Regions from separate parts of the Homo sapiens genome. Here all the other regions are linked to region 1. The links are contacts of gene promoters, found by promoter capture Hi-C in blood cells and fetal thymus (Javierre and others, 2016). All regions are on one chromosome and are shown on one strand. The core of a region is centred on a gene start or on the middle of the fragment in contact, and the rest is flanking DNA. Distances in the headings are between cores, read along the strand shown.

Region 1 (2,735 bases), core at 190-2,689:
CTTTGTTCCCCGTGGAGTAAACGCTTCGGCTGTTATTATGTCCTGTCATTGGCCCAGTGGAGGCTATGTCAGCCAATTACCCCCAGGTACCATTTAACCAACCCATGAGGTCCCCAAGGGGAACCCAGCCTTCAGGGTATCACTGAAGGTGCAGTAACAAGCCTTGCCCTAAGCACTCTGCTGTTTCACAATCATCCTAAATGTCCCTTTGGCCAAGGCCTGGGCTGAGCACTGGGGGAGCAGAGGAGGGAAGGGTGAATCCAGGGGGCCCTGTCAATCTGATAGAGGAAATGGAACACACACCCAGGACTCTGGCAGCTTAAGAAATAAGAGCAATGAAATAATCCCACCTGCATGCCAGAGGAACAGGAGAGCTGTTGCTAAGAGAGGAGGAGACTTGAAGGCAGCTTAAGTTTGAGAAAAGGAAATCGGGTTAGGTGGAAGAAGGAGCCTCTGTAGCTTAAAGGGAATGAAGTTCTAGAATCTAGTTCTTGGTTTTAGATCTGAAGAGTCTTGACCTCTTCCTAATAACTGATCACATTTTGATGCTGAATCAGAAATGACTGGGTGGCAAATGACCTGAGCAGAGGTTTGCTGGATGGGATAAATAAGCCTCTTCTGCTATTAAAAGAAAACAAAAATGAAAACAACCGAAAGCCTTAGGAAACACCATCTGCTAAACCATGCCTGAGTCTTCCTGTACCACCTCCCCAGGCCTTCTTCCCTCCCTCCCAGATAGCATGGTCCCCATTCTTAGTCCAGAAATGCTTAGTGGAGAAATCTTTTCGCTCTGGTCCAAAGTCAACCCTCAACACTTGTGACCAGAGGTCTCTGTGTCCTGCCTTCTCCAACAGACTGAGAGGTCTCTGCAGACGGGGCCAAAATCTCCTCCTTCTGAACTTCCTTCTTGCACAAGGGACAGAGCTGTCCTCATCCAGAAGCCTGGGAGGCAGGAGGAGGACAGGCTAAGGATGATTTTCTGCGATAGTCTTGACTCTATTCATGGCCTTCTGAAGCAGAAGCAGCCTGGACTTCTGCTTCACACACCTCCGTCTCCCCAGACACACACCCAGAGGGTCAGCCCCACTGGAAGTTTCCAGGGGTGATCTTGGGAGTGATAACCCCAGTAATTGGAGGCCAGCAGGTGGAGATAAGGTCGCTAAGCCATGATAATGCAGGAGGTGAGCCAAGTAAATGCTGGGTTCTGGGTCACTTTACAGGGATTCATGGGGAGTTCACGGTGGAACAGACAAAAATCTCGGTGAGTGCATGGTAATTTCCTACATGAAGAACCCAAGAGGCCTCAAGGGATCTAAAAGGTGTTGTCGACATACAAATTAGGCTGACTCCAGCCAGCCAGGCTATTTAAGGGGCGAGCTGGGCCGAGAACGCAGCGGCTGTTTGCGCCCCTTCTGCCTCCCGCGCGGCCAGCACCGGTACTTGCGAGCCATGAGCCGCCAACTGACCCATTTCCCCCGCGGGGAGCGCCTGGGCTTCAGCGGTTGCTCCGCGGTCCTCTCTGGCGGGATCGGCAGCAGCTCCGCCTCATTCCGGGCCCGGGTCAAGGGCTCGGCCTCCTTTGGCAGCAAGAGCCTCTCCTGCCTTGGGGGCAGCCGAAGCCTGGCGCTCAGCGCTGCTGCACGGCGGGGCGGCGGCCGCCTGGGCGGCTTCGTGGGCACCGCCTTCGGCAGCGCCGGGCTGGGGCCCAAGTGTCCCTCCGTGTGCCCACCCGGGGGCATCCCTCAGGTCACCGTCAACAAGAGCCTCCTGGCCCCGCTCAACGTGGAGATGGACCCCGAGATCCAGAGGGTGCGCGCCCAGGAGCGGGAGCAGATCAAGGCGCTAAACAACAAGTTCGCCTCCTTCATCGACAAGGTGAGTCCTCGGGCATTGGCCTGTCCCTGCGTTGGGCGCATGTGCACAGTGGTGCTGGCTCTGCCACTGGCGAGCTGTGTGGGAGCGTGGGCGGGTCATAACCTCTCCGAGCCTCCCTTTTCCATTTGTAAAATGGGCACAATAATGGGTCTTACTCCAGTGGGTTGCGATGAGGCTTAATTGGGATGTTTACGAAGTGCTCAGAACAGTGCCTGGCACATACTTCCAATAAACAGGATGTATTAGCCCATTTTCATGCTGCTGATAAAGACATACCCGAGACTGGGAAAAAAAAAAAGAGGTTTCATTGGACTTACAGTTCTCCATGGCTGGGGAGGTCTCAGAATCATAACGGGAGGCCAAAGTCACGTCTTATATGGCGGCGGCCAGAGAAAAATGAGGCAGAAGCAAAAACGGAAACCCCTGATAAACGCATCAGATCTCGTGATACTTATTCACTATTAGGAGAATAGCAGGAGAAAGACCGGCCCCTATGATTCATTTACCTCCCCCCTGGGTCCCTCCCACAACACGTGGGAATTCTGGGAGACTTAATTCAAGTTGAGATTTGGGTGGGGACACAGCCAAAACGTATCAAGGACCTTCATTTCTTTCTTGCATGAGACAAGACTGTGAGAAGGGAGGGGTCAGGATGTCCAAGGAATGGGCACTTTGAGAGCTCCCAATATCAGAAGAGGAGATGGGACCCACATTCAGGGCAGGGCATTAGGAACAGAGGCCAAGAGACGTTGCAGGACATGGTGCTTGGTGCTTGAGGAGTGGGGTAAGTGTGTAGCCAGGAAGATGATAGAGGAGGTGAGAGAAAAGGGCCAGAAAACTGAAGGGTGAGGCTGAGGAGG
Region 2 (2,844 bases), core at 88-2,587, 290 kb before region 1:
CTATGACAATGGTGAGGATATCTTAATAATTCCTACAAGTGGAATTGCTGAAGCAAAATGTGTGCACATTTAAATTTTAGTAGACTTTTTGTTTTTAAAGCTTGATTTCCTATGGGACTGAATTTTAGTTTTTTAGAAAATTTACATGTGTAGAAGAAGGTTCCTGTTTGACTATTCCAGATGAGCCAGCCATTATCCCCCACTTCCCTCCACCCTGCCTTTCCCGACCCAACCACCCAGGATTAAAATGATGAGTCTTCCAAGCATTTGTGGACTCTTCTGAAGATATTTTAATTCCAAGGTTTTGCTCTGCCTGCCCGCTGATCTGGGCTAAGGTGGTCTAGGAGCTCCCCTGTAGTAGGGGGATCTGAAGGTGGGCTAAGGACCGAGGGCCAGGCTGACTGGAGTGTAAGGTGGTGGGAATGGAGGAGTGAATGTTAAAGCAAGGCATGTGACAATGCGGACAGTACATACCCTTCATGAAGGATAGATAGAAATGTGTGCATGCATGTCCCTACGTAATTATATATCATAGATTCTACCTGTTGGGAAAGGAAGAGGAAGCACCACTGCAAGGAAAGGAAGGCAGGGAAGGATACCAGCATGGTGGGTGGCCCCCTAGTTCACTCTCCGCGCTGCCCTTTTACACATTGTGGTGGGCATAGTTGCTTTGTCTAGCCAGGACCCCTTCCCCCTTCTTCTAGTAATGCAAAGCTCCCCCACCTCCACTCCTGCCACGCCCCACTTCTTTTCAGGAACTGTTCCTCCTAAGATCACAGGACCTCTGTCCAGGCACACAGGGTTCACAATGGGCCAGCCTTGGCCAATCACAAGTCCCTTTGTTTCCTCCTTGCTGAGGCATATTGTACATACAATAAAATGCAAAATGTGCTTTAATGGGGAATGTACAACCTGATGAGTTTTTTTATTTTTATTTTTATTTATTTTTTTTGAGATGGAGTTTCACTCTTGTTGCCCAGGCTGAAGTGCAATGGCACGATCTCGGCTCACTGCAACCTCCGCTGCCCAGGTTCAAGCGATTCTCCCGCCTCAGCCTCCTGAGTAGCTGGGACTACAGGCATGCGCCACCACGCCGGGCTAATTTTGTATTTTTAGTAGAGACGGGGTTTCTCCGTGTTGGTCAGGCAACTCCCGACCTCAGGTGATCCACCCGCCTCAGCCTCCCAAAGTGCTGGGATTACAGGCGTGAGCCACCGTGCCCGGCGCCTGATGAGTTTTAACTTATGTTCACACCTGTAATGTAGAACATTTCCTATATCACAGAAGGTTCACTTGGGCCCCTTGCCAGAGTGCACTTTTTTTTAGTAGACTTATTTTTTAAGAACAGTTTTAGCTAGGCGCTGTGGCTCATGCCTGTAATCCCAGCACTTTGGGAGGCTGAGGCGGGTGGATCACGAGGTCAGGAGATCGAGACCATCCTGGCTAACATGGTGAAACCCCGTCTCTACTAAAAAATACAAAAAAATTATCTGGGTGTGGTGGCAGGCGCCTGTAGTCCCAGCTACTCGAGAGGCTGAGGCAGGAGAATGGTGTGAACCCAGGAGGCAGAGCTTGCAGTGAACTGAGATCATGCCACTGCACTCCAGCCTGGGCGACAGAGAAAGACTCCGTCTCAAAAAAAAAAAAAAAAAAAAAAAAGAAAAAAAGAGCAATTTTAGGTTCATAGCAAAATCGAGCAGGAGGTAGAGGGTTCTCATACACATTCTGCCCCTACACCTGCATCCCACACCAGAGGGCTACATTTGTTACAACATCATCAACATCCCACCTCAGAGGGATACATTTGTTACGATTGATGAACCTACATTGACACATCATTATTACCCACAGTCCATAGTTCACATTAGAGTTAACTCTTAGTGTGGACATTCTGTGGGGGCCATGTAGCCACCATTACAGTACCATACAGAATAGTTCACTGCCCCCAAAATCAGAGTGCATTCTCAAAAATATGAATCAGATTCAGTTACTTCCTTATATGGAAAACCCTTTATTTTTATTTTATTTTTTTCTTTTCTTTCTTTATTTTTTATTATACTTTAAGTTCTAGGGTACATGTGCACAACATGCAGGTTTGTTACATATGTATACATGTGCCATGTTGGTGTGCTGCACCCGTTAACTCGTTAACTCTTCATTTACATTAGGTATATCTCCTAATGCTATCCCTCCCCTCTACCCCCACCCCACGACAGGCCCTGGTGTGTGATGTTCCCCACCCTGTGTCTAAGTGTTCTCATTGTTCAATTCCCACCTATGAGTGAGAACATGCGGTGTTTGGTTTTCTGCCCTTGCAATAGTTTGCTCAGAATGATGGGAAAACCCTTTACTTTTGACACCCAGAATAAAGCCCTAAATCTTGACTTGGCCCACAGGCTGTGCCTACTCTTCCTCCTCTGAGGCCTCATCCTGGCCACTCTGTCCCTTGCTCTCTGATGCAGTGGTGCAGGCTTTTCAGGGCATAGCCTACATGGAATTTGCTTCTGCTCAGGGCATTGCATGGCTGGCCCCCTGCTTGGAACACCCTGCCTTTCCTAGTCACTCCCAAGCTTTCCGCTCAAACGCAGCTTCCCCAAGAAAGTCTTCTGACACCACAAGACAAGACAAAAAGTTTTATGACACCACAAGACAAGAAAGTCTTCTAGACACCACAAACTGAGTGGCGTGTTTCTATGATAAGTTCCCAAGGCACCCTGTATTTTCTCCTTGTAAATTACAGTCACTCATTCATCTGCAGAGGTATTTTATTAATATCAGCCTTTCCCCATACACTGTAAGCTCCATGAGGGCAGGGACACACCATATCTGCTTGGTTCTCCACTG
Region 3 (2,700 bases), core at 109-2,608, 360 kb before region 1:
GAATCGTATTCATCTGCATCTAATTAGTGCGACATAATTCACTTCCTAGCTGCAAGGACATCTGGGAAATGCACTTTTTAGCTCTTTGGTTTCTGAAGCAGAAAGGTACCAATTTGGAATGGAGCTGAATGCCAATCCATTCCAACTACTGCCTTTGGATTTTGCAGCCAGACTGCCTGGGTTTGAATTCTGGCTTTGCCATTTATTTAGCTGTGAGACCTTAAGGAAGGTAGTTTACCTTTCTGAGCCTCAGTTTCTTCACCTGTAAAATGAGGATTGTAATACTATCCGTCTCATAGGGTTGTTGTTAGGATTAAGTGAATTAATATATGTAATGTGCTTAGCACAGTGCCTGACACATAGAAAGTGCTCAGTAAATACTGGTTACTGGCCAGGCGCGGTGGCTCATGCCTGTAATCCCAGCACTTTGGGAGGCCAAGGTGGGTGGATCACCTGAGGTCAGGAGTTTGAGACTAGCTTGGCCAACATGGTGAAACCCCATCTCTACTAAAAATACAAAAATTAGCCAGGCATGGTGGTGCACGCCTGTAATCCCAGCTACTTGGGAGGCTGAAGCAGGAGAATCACTTGAACCTGGGAGGCAGAGGTTGCAGTGAGCTGAGTTCGTGCCATTGCACTCTAGCCTGGGTGACAAGAGTGAAACTCTGTCCCCCCCAAAAAAAACCAAATACTGGTTATTATGGTAATTGCCATTGTTATATGACCAATCCAGGATGACACCAGGATGAAGAAAACAGGGTAGGCTGGGTGCGGTGGCTCACGCCTGGAATCCCAGGACTTTCAGAGGCTGAGGTGGGCAGATCACCTGAGGTCAGTAGTTTGAGACCAGCCTGGCCAACATGGTGAACCCCCCATCTCTACTAAACATACAAAAATGGTTGGGTGTGGTGGCGCATGCCTGTAGTCCCAGCTACTTGGGAGGCTGAGGCAGGGGAATCACTTGAACCCAGCAGGTGGAGGTTGCAGTGAGCTGAGATCACGCCATTGCACTCCAGCCTTGGCAACAAGAGTGAAACTGTCTCAAAACAAAACAAAACAAACAAACAAAAAACAATAACACAAACCAAAGAAACAAAAAAATAGGGTACCTGTCTTCAAGGCATTTCCAGTCTCATGGGGAAGATGACATAAATAGCTAAGTATGCCACATGATGAAATGAAACAAAGGCAGTTGGAAAATATAGCACGGTTCTGAAGCTCAAGAGAGGCTAGGGCTGGAGGTAAATATTGAGATACCAGCTCAGAGGTAGCAACAGAGTCAGGGAATAAAAATAAGATTGTCCATGGCCAGGCACGGTGGCTCACACTTGTAGTCCCAGCACTTTGGGAGGCTGAGGTGGGTGGATCACTTGAGGTCAAGAGTCCAAGACCAGCCTGGCCAACATGGTGAATCCCCATCTCTACTAAAAATACAGAAAATTAGCTGCCTGGTGGTGGGTACCTGTAATGCCAGCTGCTTGGGAGGCTGAGGTAGAAGAATCGCTTGAACCCCAAAGGTGGAGGTTGCAGTGAGCCAAGATTGTGCCACTGCACTCCAGCCTGGGCGACAGAGTTAGACTCCATCTCCAAAAAAAAAAAAAAAAGGCCCAAGAAGAGAAAAAGCTGAGGACAGCCTGCAAGGCCTGTGTTTAAAGGGCAGATGGATGAAGTGCAGCAGGCAGAGGTGAGAGGACTGCGGAGCGCAGTGGTGTGCAGGTCAAGAGCAGAAGGACATCAGGGTCAAGTGCTGCAGAGGCTGAAAAAGATGAGGAGAGAGGGGAGGCTGCTGGACTTAGACTGGTGGCCTGTGAGGGCCTTCAGTGGCAGGGTGCAGGGGGGATGAGGAGGAGCTTTGGGGCAAGGTACGTTGGCAGTCGACCCTTTCCCAATGCCCTGTGGGCCCCAAGGAGACCTAAGGGTACATACAAGGGCAAACCTGAATGTGCAGGTCGGGGGCTGAGAGATGCTGCTCATACACCCAGGACCCATCCTCGCTGCTGATCCCCAAGATATGCCAGGCTAGGTCCCTCATCTCCTTCAGTCTTGGCCCAATGTCACTTCCTGCCCAGGCTGCCCTACTTAAAACTGCAATCTGCTGGCCAGGCGTGGTGGCTCACGCCTATAATCCCAGCACTTTGGGAGGCTGAGGCAGGTGGATCACCTGAGGTTGGGATTTTGACACCAGCCTGATCAACATGGAGAAACCCCCATCTCTACTAAAAATACAAAATTAGCCTGGCATGGTGGCGCATGCCTGTAATCCCAGCTACTCGGGAGGCTGAGACATGAGAATCTCTTGAACCCGGGAGGCGGAGGTTGCAGTGAGCTGAGATTGAGCCATCGCACTCCAGCCTGGGCAACAAGAATGAAACTCCATCTCAAAAGAAAAACAAAAACAAAAAATCCTGCAATCTGCTGCCCCCTTCCTATGGTAGGCTGAATAATGGTCCCCTCCCATCCCAAGATGTCCATATCCTAACCGCCCCTCTTTGCCTGTGAGTTTCCTTACACAGCAACAGGGACCTTGCCATGTAAATCAAAGATCTTAAGTTGGGGAGATTATGCTCATTGTCTGGGTAAATCTAATGTCATCAAAGGATCCTTATAAGAAGGAGGCAGAAGGGTCAGAGAAAGGAGATGTGAGGATAATGGAAGCAGAAGTCAGGAGAGAGGGAAGTGGGGAGAGATTTGAAGATGCTG
Region 4 (2,700 bases), core at 153-2,652, 260 kb before region 1:
ATGTTGGTCAGGCTGGTCTCGAACTTCTGACCTCAGGTGATCCACCCGCCTCAGCTTTCCAAAGTGCTGGGATTACAGGCATGAGCCACCACGCCCGGATTTTTTGTTTTTCTTTTAGACTGAGTCTTGCTCTGTCACCCAGGTTGGAGTGCAGTGGGGCGATCTTGGCTCACTGCAACCCGAGCCTCCCAGGTTCAAGTGATTCTTGTGCCTCAGTCTCCTGAATAGCTGGGGTTACAGGTGCCTGCCACCACGCCTGGCTAATTTTTGTATTTGTAGTAGAGATGGGGTTTTGCCATGTTGGCCAGGCTGGTCTCGAACTCCTGACCTCAGGTAATTCACCCGCCTCAGCATCCCAAAGTGCTGGGATTACAGGCATGAGCCACCATGCCTGGCCGATTATCCCCTTATGATAGCTGGAAAATGGAGGAAGGCACAGAGAGGTTAAGTCGCTAGCTTGAGGCCGCATGGCTAGGCCGTAGTGAAGACAGTGTCTGAACCCATAGTGTCAGACCCCTGATCTGATCTTGACCATCAGCCCCTAGGGCCCCTCTCTCCCTGATCCTCAGCCTCATTTTGTGTTCTGCCCAAGGCGTCTCCAGGATCCCAAGAGAGCTTCCGAGAGAGTCTATGCACTGTGAATTTTCCCAGGTTGGCCCAGGGCCTACTTGGACTTCTCAAGGTCTAGAAAAAGGCCTGGGAATCACCAGCGCTCTGAGTCCCCATTTGGGGGCCTCTGGCCTTATCCCCACATCAGGCACCAGGGAGGTGGTGGCACAGAAGAGGCTTCCAGGAAGATCATGAACTGCCCCTTGCTTCCATTCCAGGCGTCCAGCCCAGCTCCCAGGCATCTGGGTTGCAAGAATCCTGGCCACCTGCAGGGGGAGTCAAGAGTGGGAGAAACTGGCTCCTGCTCCTGCTCCTGCTTGCAAGGAAATACCGGGAATGGGTCTGGGCCCTGGAAAATCCTGGACAGGTGTCTGAGAGCAGGACTGGATTAAACTGGGCTGCCTGGTGAACCACCATCTCTGGCTCCTATGGACTCCAGTGTGTGTATGCGTGATCGTGTGCCTGTGCGTGTGTGTGTCTGTGATCAGATGAGGTTTCTAGACCAAGGCTCAGATCTCCTCTGGGGAAGATATCAGGCAGTGGACTTGTGAAAACCCCTGAGAATCTTGCAAGAGAATATTCTGAGCCTTTCACAGTAATCTAAGGATGTGTTTATTGACAGATATGGGGGGAAAGCCTGCTTAAATTCATATGTGTAATATGATCCCACTTATGGGAAATATATATATATATATATATATATATATATTTTTTTTTTTTTTTTTTTTTTTTTTTTTTTTTTTTTTGAGACAGAGTCTCACTCTGTTGCCCAGGCTGGAATGCAGTGGCACAATCTTGGCTTACCGCAACCTCTGCCTCCTGGATTCAAGCAATTCTCCTGCCTCAGCCTCCTGAGTAGCTGGGATTACAGGCGTGCGCCACCATGACTGGCTAATTTTATATTTTTAGTAGATATAAAAACTATATTTTTATATTTTAGTAGGGTTTCACCATGTTGGTCAGGCTGGTCTCGAACTCCTGACCTCGTATTGTGATCCACCTATCCCAGCCTCCTAAAGTGTTGGGATTACAGGTGTGAGCCACTGTGCCTGGCTTTTTTTTTTTTTTTTTTTGAGATGGAGACTCACTCTGTCACCCAGGCTGGAGTGCAATGGCATGATCTCAGCTCACTGCAACCTCTGCCTCCCTGGTTCAAATGATTCTCCTGCTTCAGCTTCCCCAGTAGCTGAGATTATAGGCACCCGTCACCATGTCTGGCTAATTTTTGTATTTTTAGTAGAGACAGGGTTTCACCATGTTGGCCAGGCTGGCCTCGAACTCCTGACCTCAAGTGATCCACCTGCCTCGGCCTCCCAAAGTGCTGGGATTACAGGAGTGAGCCACCACACTGGGCCTGGAAATACGTATTAATATGAATAGATGATGCATCTATTGCAGTAGAATATACTGCTATATGAGACACATGAGTATGGTCACACATTGCATAACAAGGTCTCTGTTGTATGTATGGTGCATATATGACAATGGTTCCATACATTATAATGGAACTGAAAAATTCCTCTTGCCTATTGACATCGTAGCCATCATAATGTATCAAAAGGCATTACTCACGTGTTTGTGAAGATGCTGGTGTAAAAAACCTACTGTGCTGCCAATTGTATCAATATATAGCACATGAAATTACATACAGTACATATTATTACTTGATCATGGTAGTAAAGGACTATGTTACTGGCTTGTATATTTACTCTACTTTTTATCATTATCTTAGAATGTATTCCTTCTACTTTTTTTTTTTTTTTTGAGATGGAGTCTCGCTCTGTTGCCCAGGCCGGAGTGCAATGGCGTGATCTCGGCTCACTGCAACTTCTGCCTCCTGGGTTCAAGCGATTCTCTTGCCTCAGCCTCCTGAGTAGCTGGGACTACAGGCATGTGCCACCATATCTGGCTAATTTTCTGCATTTTTAGTAGAGACGGGGTTTCACTGTGCTAGCCAGGATGGTCTCGACTCCTGACCTCGTGATCCGCCCACCTCGGCCTCCCAAAGTGCTGGGATTACAGGCGTGAGCCACTGCGCCCGGCCCTTCTACTTATTTATGTTTTTTTTAGAGGCAGGGTCTCACTCTGCTG
Region 5 (2,816 bases), core at 97-2,596, 380 kb before region 1:
ATGCAATTTTTATCCAGGGAGTGAACTGACAGTTTGTGATACTCAACAACAAATAAATAATTCAAACTTGGATCTGGTCTGACTTCAAAGCTTTTTCTACTATGTCATTTGGTCTTGTCCGAAACCCTAGTTCCCTTTTTCTTTTTTTTGAGACAGAGTCTCACTCTGTTGCCCAGGCCGGAGTGCAGTGGTGCGATCTCAACTCACTGCAACCTCCGCCTCCTGGGTTCAAGCGATTCTCCTGCCTCGTCTCCTGAGTAGCTGGGACTATAGGCGTGCGCCACTATGCCTGGCAAATTTTTGTATTTTTAGTAGAGATGGGGTTTCACTGTGTTGGCCAGGCTGGTCTCGAACTCCTGACTTTGTGATCCGCCCACCTTGGCCTCCCAAAGTACTGGGATTACAGGCCTGAGCCACTGTACCCAGCCTCTCTTTTTTTTTTTTCCTTGAGATGGAGTCTCACTCTATCACCCAGGCTGGAGTGCAATGGTGCAATCTGGGCTCACTGCAATCTCTACCTCCCGGGTTCAAGCAATTCTCCTGCCTCAACCTCCTGAGAAGCTGGGATTACAGGCACCTGCCACCACGCCTGGCTAATTTTTGTATTTTTTTAGTAGAGATAGGGTTTCGCCATGTTGGCCAGGCTGGTCTCCAATTCCTGACCTCAGGTTATCCGCCCTCCTCAGCCTCCCAAAGTGCTGGGATTACAGGCGTGAGCCACCACGCCTGGCAGTTTCCTTTTTCATAACATGGGACCACTTATACTTACCTATCTTGGAAAGCTTAGGGATCATTTATTTCAAATCCTTAGCACAGTACCTGCCACACAGTAAGCACTTGAAGAGTGGTAGTTCTGTATAAAAGAGTTCATAGGCTGGGCCTGGTGGCTCACGCCTGTAATCCCAGCACTTTGGGAGGCTGAGGCAGGTGGATCACGAGGTCAGGAGATCAAGACCATCCTGGCTAACATGGTGAAACCCTGTCTGTACTAAAAATACAAAAAATTAGCCGGGCGTGGTGGCACGTGCCTGTGGTCCCAGCTACTCAGGAGGCTGAGGCAGGAGAATCACTTGAAACCTGGAGGCAGAGGTTGCAGTGAACCAAGATCATGCCACTGCACTCCAGCCTGGGTGACAGAGTGGGACTCTGTCTCAAAAAAATAAAAATAAAAAATAAAATAAAATAGTTCATAAACTGCAAAGCATTATATAAATATTAGGTATTATTATAAAGACATAGGTCGGGCGGGGGTGCAGGGGCTCACACCTGTAATCCCAGCACTTTGGGAGGCCGAGGCGGGCGGATCACGAGGTCAGGAGATTGAGACCATCCTGGCTAACACGGTGAAACCCTATCTCTGTCTAAAAATACAAAAAATTAGCTGGGCGTGGTGGCGGGTGCCTGTAGTCCCAGCTACTCGGGAGGCTGAGGCAGGAGAATGGCGTGAACCTGGAAGGCAGAGCTTGCAGTGGGCCGAGATCGTGCCACTGCACTCCAACCTGGGCTACAGAGCAAGATTCCGTCTCAAAAAAAAAAATAAAAAAAAAAATAAAGACATAGGTCGGGCATAGTGGCCCACACCTGTAATCCCAGCACTTTGGGAGGCTGAGGCGGGTGGATCACAAGGTCAGGAGTTTGAGACCAGTCTCAAAAAAAAAAAAAAAAGACATAAACACCAGATCAAAGACTGTGTAAATAGGACTGAGCCAATCTGGAGAAGCATTGTGCAGGAGGCAGCATGAAGGAGGATGAGAGGTGTGTCAGGGCAAGGGCAAATAGGGAAGGACCAGGAAACCCAGGGGGACACATGCCTGACATTCACAGGGCCAGTTCCTCGACTCCTGCACCATGATCACTGCCATTCTGTCTGTGCCGCTAGCATGGCCCTCCAGAATGAACTGCAAGCTTGCTTGAGGCTCTGGAGAGCTCTTACGTCCACTGACGTTGTTTAAGCTCCAAGAGGCTCTGATTCCATGAACTCTGCCAATGAGAAGGTTGAAAAGAAATTGGAAGTCAATGTGGATGGAGCAGCCGCCTATTAGCAAATTTGGCCAAATGGTGGTGCTATAAGCCAGAAAATCAAAGCCATTCTAGTAGCCAGGATGACTGGAACAATGGTCTCTGCACCTAGAAGGCCACCAGGGGGCAGAGGGAGGCAAGACTGCTTTTCTCAGGGACAGCTGGAGTCACCAAGTCAAAAAGGCCATCAGTGCCGGACGTGGTGGCTCACATGTGTAATCTCAGCACTTTGGGAGGCCGAGGCTTGAGGTCAAGAGTTCAAGACCAGCCTGGCCAACTTGGTGAAAGCCTGCCTCTACTAAAAATACAAGAAATTAGTCGGGCATGGTGGTGCGTACCTCGGGAGGCTGAGGCAGGAGAATAGCTTCAATCCAGGAGGTGGAGGTTGCGGTGAGCTGAGATCATGCCATTGCACTCCAGCTTGGGTGACAGATCGAGACTCCATCTCAAAAAAAAAAAAAATGCCATCAGAGTCATTTAATAAAACAAATGGCTATATTGATGCAGTGCCAGAAATAAAACAGAATAACTCAAACAGGTGCAGATCTTGCTATGAAATGCTTAAAGGGATAGGAGTCATTACAAAATGCTTAAAGGGATAGTTCAAGGGAGCTCTGCAGCCTCATCCCTTAACCTGCCCCCCTCACCATACAACTTGTTGCTATAAGTGTCACCCTGTCGCCATGGCTTTTCCTCCCTTCCTCTGTTCCCATACCTTCCCCATACTCATCAAGCTCCTTCTGTATACCAGAGCATTTAGCCAGAGCCTCGGAAGGTGAGGGAGAGATCGCTGATGA

What was found. The method cuts DNA at HindIII sites, captures the fragments that hold promoters and counts their contacts. A CHiCAGO score of 5 or more calls a contact.
Region 2: a fragment that was not itself captured here is called in contact with the fragment with the promoter of KRT72 in region 1 in 7 of 17 cell types (M2 macrophages, M1 macrophages, total CD4 T cells and 4 more); the score reaches 7.4 in M2 macrophages.
Region 3: a contact is called between a fragment that was not itself captured here and the fragment with the promoter of KRT72 in region 1, in 1 of 17 cell types (M2 macrophages). The highest score is 6.0, in M2 macrophages.
Region 4: a contact is called between a fragment that was not itself captured here and the fragment with the promoter of KRT72 in region 1, in 13 of 17 cell types (naive CD4 T cells, erythroblasts, total CD8 T cells and 10 more). The highest score is 15.6, in naive CD4 T cells.
Region 5: a contact is called between a fragment that was not itself captured here and the fragment with the promoter of KRT72 in region 1, in 1 of 17 cell types (naive CD4 T cells). The highest score is 5.0, in naive CD4 T cells.

What each region holds. Positions count from the first base shown.
Region 1 is chr12:52,600,167-52,602,901 of GRCh38, reverse strand. KRT72 (keratin 72) reads left to right here and starts at 1,439. Exons shown (of 9, transcript NM_080747.3): 1 at 1,439-1,875. The coding sequence starts at 1,450. The HindIII fragment of the contact is 8,078 bases long and covers 1-2,735 here.
Region 2 is chr12:52,890,257-52,893,100 of GRCh38, reverse strand. No RefSeq gene overlaps it. Among named protein-coding and RNA genes, the nearest start is that of MIR9898, 7.3 kb to the left of the region's middle. The HindIII fragment of the contact is 2,470 bases long and covers 103-2,572 here.
Region 3 is chr12:52,959,870-52,962,569 of GRCh38, reverse strand. No RefSeq gene overlaps it. Among named protein-coding and RNA genes, the nearest start is that of KRT18, 12 kb to the right of the region's middle. The HindIII fragment of the contact is 7,526 bases long and covers 1-2,700 here.
Region 4 is chr12:52,863,697-52,866,396 of GRCh38, reverse strand. No RefSeq gene overlaps it. Among named protein-coding and RNA genes, the nearest start is that of KRT78, 16 kb to the right of the region's middle. The HindIII fragment of the contact is 5,339 bases long and covers 1-2,700 here.
Region 5 is chr12:52,980,324-52,983,139 of GRCh38, reverse strand. No RefSeq gene overlaps it. Among named protein-coding and RNA genes, the nearest start is that of EIF4B, 25 kb to the left of the region's middle. The HindIII fragment of the contact is 1,123 bases long and covers 785-1,907 here.